2 separate regions of the Homo sapiens genome follow, and region 1 is linked to region 2. Evidence: promoter capture Hi-C in human tissues and cell types (Jung and others, 2019). All regions are on one chromosome and are shown on one strand. Each heading gives the region's core, a stretch centred on a gene start or on the middle of the fragment in contact. The rest is flanking DNA. Distances are from core to core; before and after follow the strand shown.

Evidence for each region. The method cuts DNA at HindIII sites, captures the fragments that hold promoters and counts their contacts. A contact is called where the count stands out against the background at its distance.
Region 1: a fragment that was not itself captured here is called in contact with the fragment with the promoter of MTNR1A in region 2 in 1 of the 25 tissues and cell types used here (H1 embryonic stem cells).

What each region holds. Positions count from the first base shown.
Region 1 is chr4:186,313,568-186,319,307 of GRCh38, reverse strand. The region is part of intron 1 of F11-AS1 (F11 antisense RNA 1); the gene reads left to right. Among named protein-coding and RNA genes, the nearest start is that of F11, 50 kb to the right of the region's middle. The HindIII fragment of the contact is 4,467 bases long and covers 372-4,838 here.
Region 2 is chr4:186,553,982-186,559,834 of GRCh38, reverse strand. It overlaps MTNR1A (melatonin receptor 1A), which reads left to right and starts at 4,268. Exons shown (of 2, transcript NM_005958.4): 1 at 4,268-4,653. The coding sequence starts at 4,470. The HindIII fragment of the contact is 6,800 bases long and covers 1,296-5,853 here.

The DNA.
Region 1 (5,740 bases), core at 1,356-3,855, 240 kb after region 2:
TGAAACCGTTACTGTGACTAATAATAACAGTGGCAGCATATATAATAAAATGAGTCCTGAAGTGAGGTTTAGAGCCACAGCTTGAACTCAACTTTATCACTGATTAGCTTTGTGACCAGGGAAACTCAATCTTTGAGCACCTCTTACTCCACATCTGTAAAGTGCGGCTGATTTTATGAGCACTGATGTTTTCTCCAATGCTGATACTATATAATTCCAAGGCTCTGTAGAAATTTGTTTGACAATGAGCTGAAATGTGCAGTAAAAAAAAAAGACGATCCTCACAAACAACGTCTTGAATGTTTGGCTTTTACAATCTCCTAAGTGGTTTTACATGTCACCTTCTTTCAGACGATCCCAAAATTCCAGCACATTACAGAACGTACTATTTGATCATCCTTATAATGCCGTGTTTCTTTTCAAAACCAATACTGAATACTGAATTCATCCATCAGTCTGTGCTTGGATACTTGAGCGACATGAAACTATTTCAGAAGAGAGCCGAGTCCCATTGTGAGTGGTTCTTACTAGTAGAAATTATCTTATGAGAACTCTATCTAATGTTATAACCATCTGGAGGCACTTGGCCATCTGCTCCCCATAGATTTTCATCTGCCCTTTCAAACCAGCCCTATGGCCAGGCACTGTTCCTGCTATTTTCCACACGTCATTTGTCCCAGCTCACTCAAGCAGTCTGGACCCGGAGTTCAGGCTTACCCATCACGTTTTGTGTAGTAGGACTTATTTCCAAATCGGTGTACACTTTTAAAAATTAGTAGACTTTATTTTATAGAGCAGTTTTAGATTTGCAGAAAAATTAAGCATAAAATACAGAGGGTTCTTATGTATTCTTCTCCTACCCTTCCAGGTTCTCCTAACATCTTGCATTAGCGGAGGACATTTGTTAAAACTGATGAACATATTGTTACATGATTCTTAGCTAAAATCTGTAGTTTACATTAGGGCTAACTCTTGGTTACATGTAGATGTTATGGGTTTTGACAAATGTATAATGACATACAACCGTCATTATAGCATCATGCTGAATAATTTCACAGCCCTAAAAACCTCGTGTTCCACCCATCCATCCTTTCCTTCCACCTCACAAATCCTAGACAATCACTGATTTTTTTTTTTTTAGACGGAGTTTCACTCTTGTTGCCCAGGCTGGAGTGCAATAGCACGATCTCAGCTCACCACAACCTCTGCCTCCTGAGTTCAAGCGATTCTCCTGCCTCAGCCTCCCGAGTAGCTGTGATTACAGGCATGCATCACCACATCCAGCTGATTTTTTTGTATTTTTAGTAGAGACAGGGTTTCTCCGTGTTGGTCAGGCTAGTCTCGAACTCCCGACCTCAGGTGATCTGCCTGCCTCAGCCTCCCAAAGTGCTGGGATTACAGGCATGAGCCACCGCGCCTGGCCACTGATTTTTTTTTTACTATTTCCATACTTTTGGTTTTTCCAGAATGTCATAGTTGGATTGACGCAGCATGCAGCCTTTTCAGATTGGCTTCTTTCTCTTTTTTTTTCTTTTTCTTTTTTTTTTTTTTTTTTTTTTTTGAGACAGAGTCTCACTCTGTCACCCAGGCTGGAGTGCAATGGTGCGATCTCGACTCACTGCAATCTCTGCCTCCCAGGTTCAAGTGTTTCCCCTGCCTCAGCCTCCTGGGTACCTGGGATTACAGGTGCATGCCACCATGCCCAGCTAATTTTTGTATTTTTAGTAGAGACGGGGTTTCACCATGTTAGCCAGGATGGTCTCTATCTCCTGACCTTGTGATCCGCCCACCTCTGCCTCCGAAAGTGCTGGGATTACAGGTGTGAGTGCCGGGCTTAGATTGGCTTCTTTCTCTTAGCAATATGCCTTTAAGATTCCCCCATGTCTTTTAATGGCTTGATAGCTTGTTTCTTTTTATTGCTAAATAATATTCCATTACAACCTTGTCCTACAGTTTGTTTATTTATTCTCCTATTGGATAACATCTTAGGTGCTTTCTAGTTTTGGCAATTATGAGTAAAGCATATACAATCTACATTCAGGCTTTTATGTGTGCATAGTTTTTCAGCCCTTTCGGATAAATACCAAGACATGCATTTTCCATGTTATATAGTAAGAGTTTATTTAGTTTTGTAAGGACAAAACAATGAATGAGAGCTCCTGTTGCTTCACATCCTCTCTAGCATTTGGTGGTGTCAGCATTTTGGATTTTAGCCATTCTAATAGGTATGTAGTGGTGTCTTATTGTTGCTTTAGTTTGCATTTCTCTAATAACATGATGTTGAGCATCTTTCCATATGCTTATTTGCTACCTGTATATCTTGGATGAGGTATCTGTTCAGATCTTTGGCTCATTTTGTAATTGGGTTGTTTGTTTTCTTATTGTTGAGTTTTAAAAGTTCTTTGTTTGTAATCCCAGCACTTTGGGAGGCCAAGGCGGGAGGATCACGAGGTCAGGGGATCGAGACCATCCTGGCTAACACAGTGAAATCCCGTCTCTACTAAAAATACAAAAAAATTAGCCCAGCATGGTGGCACATGCCTGTAGTCCCAGCTACTCAGGAGGCTGAGGCAGGAGAATCACTTGAACTGGGGAGGTGGAGGTTGTAGTGAGCTGAGATCGCACCACCGCACTCCAGCCTGGGCGACAGAGGGAGACTCTGTCTCAAAAAAAAAAAAAAAATAGAGTTCTTAGTGTATTTTGGATTCAAATCCTTTATCAAGTGTGTGTTTTTGCATGTCTGTGGCATGTCTGTTCATTCTCTTAACAGAGTTTTTTGCAGAGCAGAAGTTTTTGATTTTAATGAAGTCTGACATAATTTTTTTCTTTCATGGACCATACTTTTGGTGTTGTATCTGAACAGTCATCGTCATACCCGAGGCCACCTGGATTTTCTCCTATTATCTTCTAGGAGTTTCATAGTTTTACATTTTACATTTAGACTTTTGATTCATCTTCAGTTAATTATTTGTGAAATATGTAAGAAATATGTAAACTCTGTCTAATTCATTTCTTACGCATGCAGATATTCCAGAGCCATTTCCTGAAAAGACTATCCATTCTCCACTGAAACGTCTTTGCGCCCTTTTCAAAGATTGCTTGATGGGATCTGTGCGGGTGTGGGCTGTCTACTCCGTTCCGCTGCTCGATTTGTCTATTTCAAAGATTGCTTGATGGGATCTGTGCGGGTGTGGGCTGTCTACTCTGTTCCGCTGGTCGATTTTTCTATTCTTTCACCAATACCACATTGTCTTGATTACTATAGCTTTACGATAAGTCTTGAAGTTAGGTAATGTCAACTCTTCAACTTGGTTCTTTTCCTTTAATATTGTGTCTAGTCATCTGGATCTTTTGCCTTTCCTTGTAAATTTAGAAGATGGGTCTTGTTAAGGAGCACAAAATGCTCTGGGCATATCTCAAAACGGCTCCCTTTGGGAAGCAAGAGGGGATTTTTCTCTTTTCTCACCATGAGAACCGCAGGGCTTCTGGAGGTAAAACTCACAAAAGTGTGCCCCCACCCCAGACCAGGCCCCCTTCTGGCATTTTTAATGCTCAAGCTTATCTACAAGAGCCTTCAGAAATTTGTCAATTGCAGTCTAAGTTTTCCTACCCCAGTACTGGCTCCAGTGGCGATTGCTGCTCCTGGGCTGTGTTTGAATTAAGCTATAATTCTCTGGGTTTGTCTGTCTGCCTCTCCAATTTTAAGGCGGTGGCATGTCCAGTGACCTCAATTCTCTGACGGATCCAAGAAAAGTTGCTGGTGTCCAGTTCATTCAGCTTTGTTCCTGTTGTTAGGATGTGAGGGATGATGTCAAGCTCTTTATGTGCTGGACTGCAAATCAGAAGTTCAGAGTACACTTTTGCAAATGAGAGGCATTTCTCAATGAAATAATAAAGCTTATTTTAAAAAATAAAATAACTTTTTCTTTAAAGTATGCTTAGGTATGAACTTAGTACCATTCATATTGCTTCTTTTAATTTGCATTCATTGTTGTTTTACTTTAGTGATTATTAGAACAATGTATTGTTATTAAATAAAATATCATGTGGTATTTTTTTAAAATAGTCCATATAATTTCACCATTCATCAATAATCATTGTTAATATTTTCATGTATTTCATTCTAGTACAATCTAATTTTCCTTCCTTCCCTCTCTCCCTCCTTCTCTTACTCATTTCTTTCTTTTCACCTACCTATATATTCAAAATGCTTGTTATGGCACATATGTGTATATATATGTGTACGTGTGTATATGCACAAGTGTACAATTTAACTTTATTCTAATATGTAATAACCACATTTAATGTATAATTATATATACATATTATGCATATAAACTAAGCTAATTCTATCTATCTATCTATCTATCTATCTATCTATCTATCTATAATTTTAATCTAGTCCTAGATTTGAGTCGAAGTCTTCCTTCTCATTCACACTGATTATCTGGCAGTCAGTGCTCTTGGGATTGAAATTTCAGGCCAGCATGGCATCCCAAATTCTCTGCGTTTCCTCTAAAGATTCCAACTGTGCAAATAATTGCTGAAAGTAAAATGCTTCAAAATGTAAAAATAATGATGTAATACAGAAAAGTGACTAATTCTACCATTTTATTAAATAAATGGTATTTCATTGAGAATCAATTCTATAATTTTACTTTTACCCAAATAGCTCCAAAATATATATTTGCATATATATATAGAAAATATATATGCATCTATTATATATAATAATATATATTTATATAATTTATAATATATATTTTAATATATTTTATATAATTTATATAATATATAATATATAATTAGATGCATATATTATATATGTATAATAGATGCATATATATTATATATATATAATAGATGCATCTATTTTTATATATAATAGGTGCATCTATATTAATAGATTCATATATATAAAATAGATGCATCTATAACTTAGATGCATGTACATATGCAAATATATGCATCTATTTATTTTTGAAACAGCATCTTGCTCTGTTGCCCAAGCTGGAGTGCAGTGGTGCGATGATGATAACTCTCTGTAGCCTTGACCTCCTGGGCTCAAGCAGCTCTCTTGCCTCAGCTTCCTGAGTAGCTGAGACTACAGGTGAGTGCCACCACACCCAGCTAATTTTTTGCTTTTGTAGAGACAAGGTCTCACTATGTTGCTCAGGCTGGTCTTTAACTGGGCTCCAGCGATGCTCCTGCTTCAGCCTGCTGAAATACTGGGATTACAGGCGTGAGCCACTGCACCCAGCCTTGCATTTGTTTTACTAGAATACTTATGATTTAGTGAAATGTGACCTCTATGACTGCTATAGTAGCTGTTGAATGTGAGCCCACTCCACTCAACACAAGGATTCAGTGGATAAGAAACTCCATCTCTACCAATAAATCCCTTCACAGGTGTTGATGGTGTTATAGCTTGAATTTCTGCTGCCTCAAAAAATGGGGTAAATAGGAAAGCTAAATATCACCAATTTTGTTACAGTGTATGAGCTGAAATAACATCTTCCTTTTTTTTGATTTTCAATACGGAAGAAAAGTAAGAATCATTTCTAAAGTGCCCAGAAACACCTGAGCCTCGGTCCAGGTCCTCAATAACTCCGATGAGAGAATCCATTTCCAGCCCCTTCCCTGCAGTAGGCACAGCACAGAAACCCGACTCCTTCCGTCTGCAGGAAATAAGAGATCATAGGAACACCTTTTAAAATTGTGGCTGGCGCCTACTCTACGG
Region 2 (5,853 bases), core at 3,019-5,518:
GCCTGGGTTGTCTAGTTGGGCCCAGTCTAAATCCACATGCCCTTAAAATAGAGAACTTTCTCCAGCTAACAGCAGAGGAGATAAAGCAGAAGATAAAGTTAGAGAAATTTGAAGTGTGAGTGGGACTCTGCCCACCATTGTTGGCTTCAAAGATGAGAGAAGGGACCATGAGTCAAGGAATGCAGCCAACCTCTAGAAGCTGAGAATGACCTCAACCTTACAACCATATGAAACTGGATTCTGCCAGCAACTTGAATGAGCTCAGAAGTGGATTTACCCTGAGAACCTCCAGAAAGAAACAGCTCTACTTCTTTGTGGTTTTATCCTCATAAGACCCTAAGCAGAGGGCTCAGCTGAGCCACTTTGTACCTGGACTTCTGGTCTGTTTAACTGTGACATAATACATGGATGTTGTTTTAAGTCTCCAAATTAATTTAATTAAGGTAATTTGTTATGACAGTAATAGAAAATTAGCACAGTTTCTGATGAGAAATCAGCTGTTAGTTGGATTAATTGCTAACCAGTACGTAATATGTAACTTGACTTTAATTGCTTTTTATCTTTGGCTTTTAGCAGTTTGACTATGCTGTGCCTTAGTATGCTTGTTTTTGTTTATTCTGCTTAGTATTCATTTTGCATGTACAAATTTACGTCTTTCCTAAAATTCAGGAAAATTTCAATCATGATGTCTTCTAATATTTTTTCTGCACCATTTTATTTCTACAGCTAGTATTCTAATTAATATAATCTATAAGAATTGTAAGCTTTGTTCATTTTAAAATATATCTTTTCTCTGTGTTGGACAATTTCTGTTGGTTTATCTTTAAGTATACTTACTCTGTCATGTCCATTTGGCTAGTAAGTCCATTGAGTAAAGAATTAATTTCAGAAATTGTATTTTTCAGTTCTAGAATTTCCCCTTCGTTCTTTTTTACTGTTTTTATTTCTTTCATGGGAGTTCCTATTTCTTTGCTGAGATTGTTAGTTACAACATTTTGCTCATTTAGGGACTGGATTTGATTGATCTTATTGTATCTTAAAGAATGTGTTTAGATAGATGATAGATAGATAGGTAGATAGATAGATAGATAGATAGATAGATAGATAGATAGATAGATAGACAGACAATGTTTTCATACGTTAAATAATTTTGAATGTACCATGGACATACGAATCTTACACTGTGGGTATTCTAGATGCTATTATTTTTCTCTGTTGAGTTTTCTTTGTCTCAGTAGGCAGTGTTCTTGGCTAGGCTGGAACTGGAACTGTTTTCTTGTGTGGCAGCTCCAGCCTCAGTTCAGGCCTTTTGCTCCAGTTGCTTCCTTTGGGTCTATTCCTCACGTGCTGGGTTCAGGGATGCTGGCAGTCAGAGTCTGGGCATTCCCTCTCTGGGTCTTTGTTTTCCAGGATTTCACCATCATTTTCAGTGCTCGTGGTTTCCCAGCTTCACCTTTCTCATTCCCCAGGGAAGAAAGATCATGAATGTTGTTATGTGCACCCCAGCATTATGTATGCCACCCCTTTTGGGGGAGAGTTAGCCATCTATGCCTTTGTATTTCATCTGTTGATTTCACAAATTTGTGTATCAAAACCCCAAGTATAGGAGTTTTACCTGTGACAAACAATGCAGGGAGAAATAACGGTGTGTCCTGACACATGTGGACACTGTTCAATTGTTTTCTATTAGTAAAACGACTAGCACCATGTATGCAGTTTGAAGACGTCCATATCTGGTGCACAGGAATGCTTTTTCTCCACGTGTTTCAAACCACACTTGGCACTACCAATATAATGTTTTCTAAAGTGATCGCTGGAATGGAAGCTTTCTCTTTTTTTTAACTTTTTTGCTAAAAGAGGTTACACATACATTTTTAGTTTTTGTCTAATTATGACCTTTAAATATATTTCTATTTTTTTTCCTTAGCTCTTTATATAATTGTCTTAGTCTGTTTTCCATCACTATTACAGAATACAGCAATACCTGGGACTGGATAATTTTTTTTTTTTTTTTCTGAAGCAGAGTCTCTCTCTGTCTCCCAGGCTGGAGTGGTAATTTTTTAAAACCCACTCTCACTGTAACTAATCCAGTCCCAGGAGAGCAAGAACTGACTCATGCCTGCAGAATTAACCCAGTCAGACAGAGTGGTATAACCCTCTTGACCTGATCGCCTCTTGAAGGCCCCGCCTTCCCCTGGGGACCAAATTTTCCACACACAAATTCTGGGGACATGCTGAAACCATAACAATAATGAAGACCATTAATGCTTCGTCTCTTAGCTATGTCACAAATCATTTCCCCAGTTTCTCTAGCTTTCACTTGTGTGTGGTATTTTTTGAATATAGGACTTTTAACTTTTCCGTAGTCAAATCTATCACGACCGAGAAACACTATCACTTAGTAATGAGGCTCCTTGCTTGGCAGTCAGAGAGACCTGAGTTCCAATCCTGCCTCTACTTGTTACCAGCTGTGTGACTTTGGTACATTGCTTAACCTCTCAGCACCAGAGGTTTCTCGTCCATAAAATGGTCGCAGCAGTGCCAGACCTTCTGGAATTGTTAACACATTGTGCAAACAATGGTTGTAAGATACCGATGCCAGAGATGGGAAGTGACACACGCTGTCCATGGCAGCTGCTACCTTTTCTATGGTTAGGATTATTTCCTGTCTGTCTTTTTTCCAGGCTTACAGAGTGCTTCTCTACCTCAAGTGATATGTATATTTACCTACATTTTCTTTAAATGCATTTTTGTTTTCGTGATCTATCCCAGCCCTACTGATTTGAACTGTTCACTTTATAAAATCTTTATTTTATATGCTTTTTCAAATTGTTTATGAGCTCAATACTGTTTTAGTTTTTTTTTTTTTTTTGAAACGGAGTCTCATTCTTTTTGGCCCAGGCTGGAGCGCAGTGGCGTGATCTCAGCTCACTACAATCTCTGCCTCCCGGGTTCAAGCGATTCTCCTGCCTCAGGCTCCTGAGATTACAGGCGCCCACCACAATACTTGGCTAATTTTTGTGTTTTTAGTAGAGACGAGGTTTCACCATGTTGGCCAGGCCAGCCTCAAACTCCTGACCTCAGGTGATCCACCTGCCTCAGCCTTCCAAAGTGCTGGGGTTACAGGTGTGAGCAGCCGTGCCTGGCATACTTATTGTAATTTTTTTTTTTTTTTTTTTGAGACAGAGTCTTGCTCTGTCTGCCAGACTGGAGTGCAGTGGCACGATCTCGGCTCACTGCAATCTCCGCCTCCCGGGCTCAAGCAATTCTCCTGCCTCAGCCTCCCGAATAGCTGGGATTATAGGCCTGTGCCACCACGCCCGGCTAATTTTTGTATTTTTAGTAGAGACGGGGTTTCACCATGTTGGCTAGGCTGGTCTTGAACTCCTGACCTCAGGTAATCCGCCCACCTCGGCCTCCCAAAGTGCTGGGATTGCAGGCGTGAGCCACCGTGCCTGTAATCCCAGGCGCCACTTAATTGTAATTTTTAATGAACATTTTGATACTGGTAGGTCATACTTCTCTCCTATTCATCTTATTCAAATCCTTTTCCTACACTTTCTTTTTACTCTTTCAAAGAAACTTTAGGTTATTTGATATTTTTCTTGGTCTGGCATAAAGTATATGAGGAAAATGAAAATTTCAGGCTTCGAAGCTAGGAACACTGTTTGTCTCTCCGTTTATTTAAATTTCCTTTCATGGTTTTCATAAAGTTTTTTCCTCACTGCACACAACTGGTTAGGCCATTTCCTAGCACTTTTACATTGCTGCCATGTATCCGATCCACCTAAGTGTGCTTTCTTTCTCATTTTTACTGGTACTTACAGAAGTACATACATTTTTATCATCTGCAAATATTGAGTTTTACTTTTTTCTTTGAAAATGTCATTTCATTATCGGAAACATCTAGCACCATCTTAAGCGGTGCAATACACAACGGAAGACAGTCCTTGGTTTTTTCACATTTTACTAATTATGAGGCTAACAGGTGAGATAGTATCTTATTCCCATTTTGCAGATAAGGAAGATAAGGGCGGTGGGGCACACAGCTGGTGAACTCGCCCCAATCCCATTTCGCATTTGATCCCAGGCAGCCTGGCCCTGCTGGGTGAAAAGTCCCATCCCAGAGAGGAAACACAATGAACGGCCTCGCCGTGCGCCCACGAGGAGAGGCCTCTGGGACACCGTCCCCAGGGCGCGGCGGCTGGGCCCGGCTTCCCGCACCGGGGCGCTGTCGGCCCGTGGTGCGGGGTTCGAGCTGCGGGCGGGGAATCCAAGCGGGCTCGCGGCGGACACCAGGTGTCACCTGGCCGTGGCGTCCGGCGCGGCGTGGGCGTCCGGGGGCGCGGCGTGGAGGAGCGCGCGGGATGGGGCGTGGGCGCGGGGAGCGCCGGGCGGAGCCTTAACAAGTGGTCGGGCGGGCGGACGAGGCGGGCGATGGCCCCGCGGCCGGGACGCGCACAGGGACCATGCAGGGCAACGGCAGCGCGCTGCCCAACGCCTCCCAGCCCGTGCTCCGCGGGGACGGCGCGCGGCCCTCGTGGCTGGCGTCCGCCCTGGCCTGCGTCCTCATCTTCACCATCGTGGTGGACATCCTGGGCAACCTCCTGGTCATCCTGTCGGTGTATCGGAACAAGAAGCTCAGGAACGCAGGTAGGGCCCGCGCCGCCTCCCCTGGGCCAGCGCTCCGGACGCAGCGCCTCTCCGCGGGCAGCCAGCCTTCCCCAAGCACTTGGTTCTTTTTCCTAAACACTGCGGACTTGGAGTTATTTTTCCTGTTAGAGAGGACTCTTCTCCAGCCTGCCCGTTGAAAGTGCCTTTTCATAAGGCGCGGAGTCACAGCCCCTAAGAGGTGGGACACTCCACCAGAGTCGGGTTCTCTTTCCTATGGGGACACCCCCGTCTGGTTGTCCTGTCTGAGGTTTATTAGATTGAGAAGCCTCAGGTCCAGGCTGCAGAAAGTTCCTCAAGCAGCCTCTGCAACGAACTGATCAATTGCTTGGTCTTAACATGTGATTTAGTTTTCCCAACATTGTTAAAATATGGAAACATAGAAGCTGGCAAAATGATGGAGCAGCCGCCGTGGTCTTGTTGTTCGGGAGTAGTCTGCAGTTACGAGCCTACAGTGGAAAGAGAGGCTCCCAAACGTGCTGTGTCCGGCAGGCGGCGGCTCCTCCAAGTAAACAAGTTGACACTTTAAAAACGGAAGTTGTTGTGTTAGAGTAGGCAGGTAGCCAGGCGTGAGCAGGAAAGAGTACACTTACGTATAATATGCAACTACAGGTAATTGTGTGCTTGAGTTAACTTGCTTTTTCCTCCGAGCAATGCATTGAACTGGTTTGTTCTGGTGGGAACCTGTGGACACTTTGTTCTTAGGATGCTGGATGTTCAGACCTCTGAGTGATGATTAGATGCTTGGTTCTCTGAAGAAACTAGTTTTTTATTTGGAGGCACTTTTGGGAGAAGGGGCGGGGAACGAAACGTGCACTTAACATGTCTGCCAAGATCAATATTTTCGTTTTAACCAGGTGGTTAAGAAAAGCTCTAATTTTGCTTAGCTCCTTTTGGGGAGGCTCACCCCTGCCCTGCCTCCCCCACCCGCCCCCAGTAGTGCTTTTACGGTTTGTAGTTTGAGAATTAGTTAGTTAAGCACTTAGTAATATGAATTGAGTTTGAGTCAGTAAATTGAATAAGCTCACTTCGTAGGTGATTGATATAAACTGGAGGAATTCTGCCTTCGAGAAGAGGCTCTTTCCTTCCTAGCAATAAAAACGACTTTCTCTGGACCAAACAGGTTGTGAGCACTGGGTTAATTGAATCCTAGTGCAGCCTTGTGCTGTGGCGCCGTGGTCA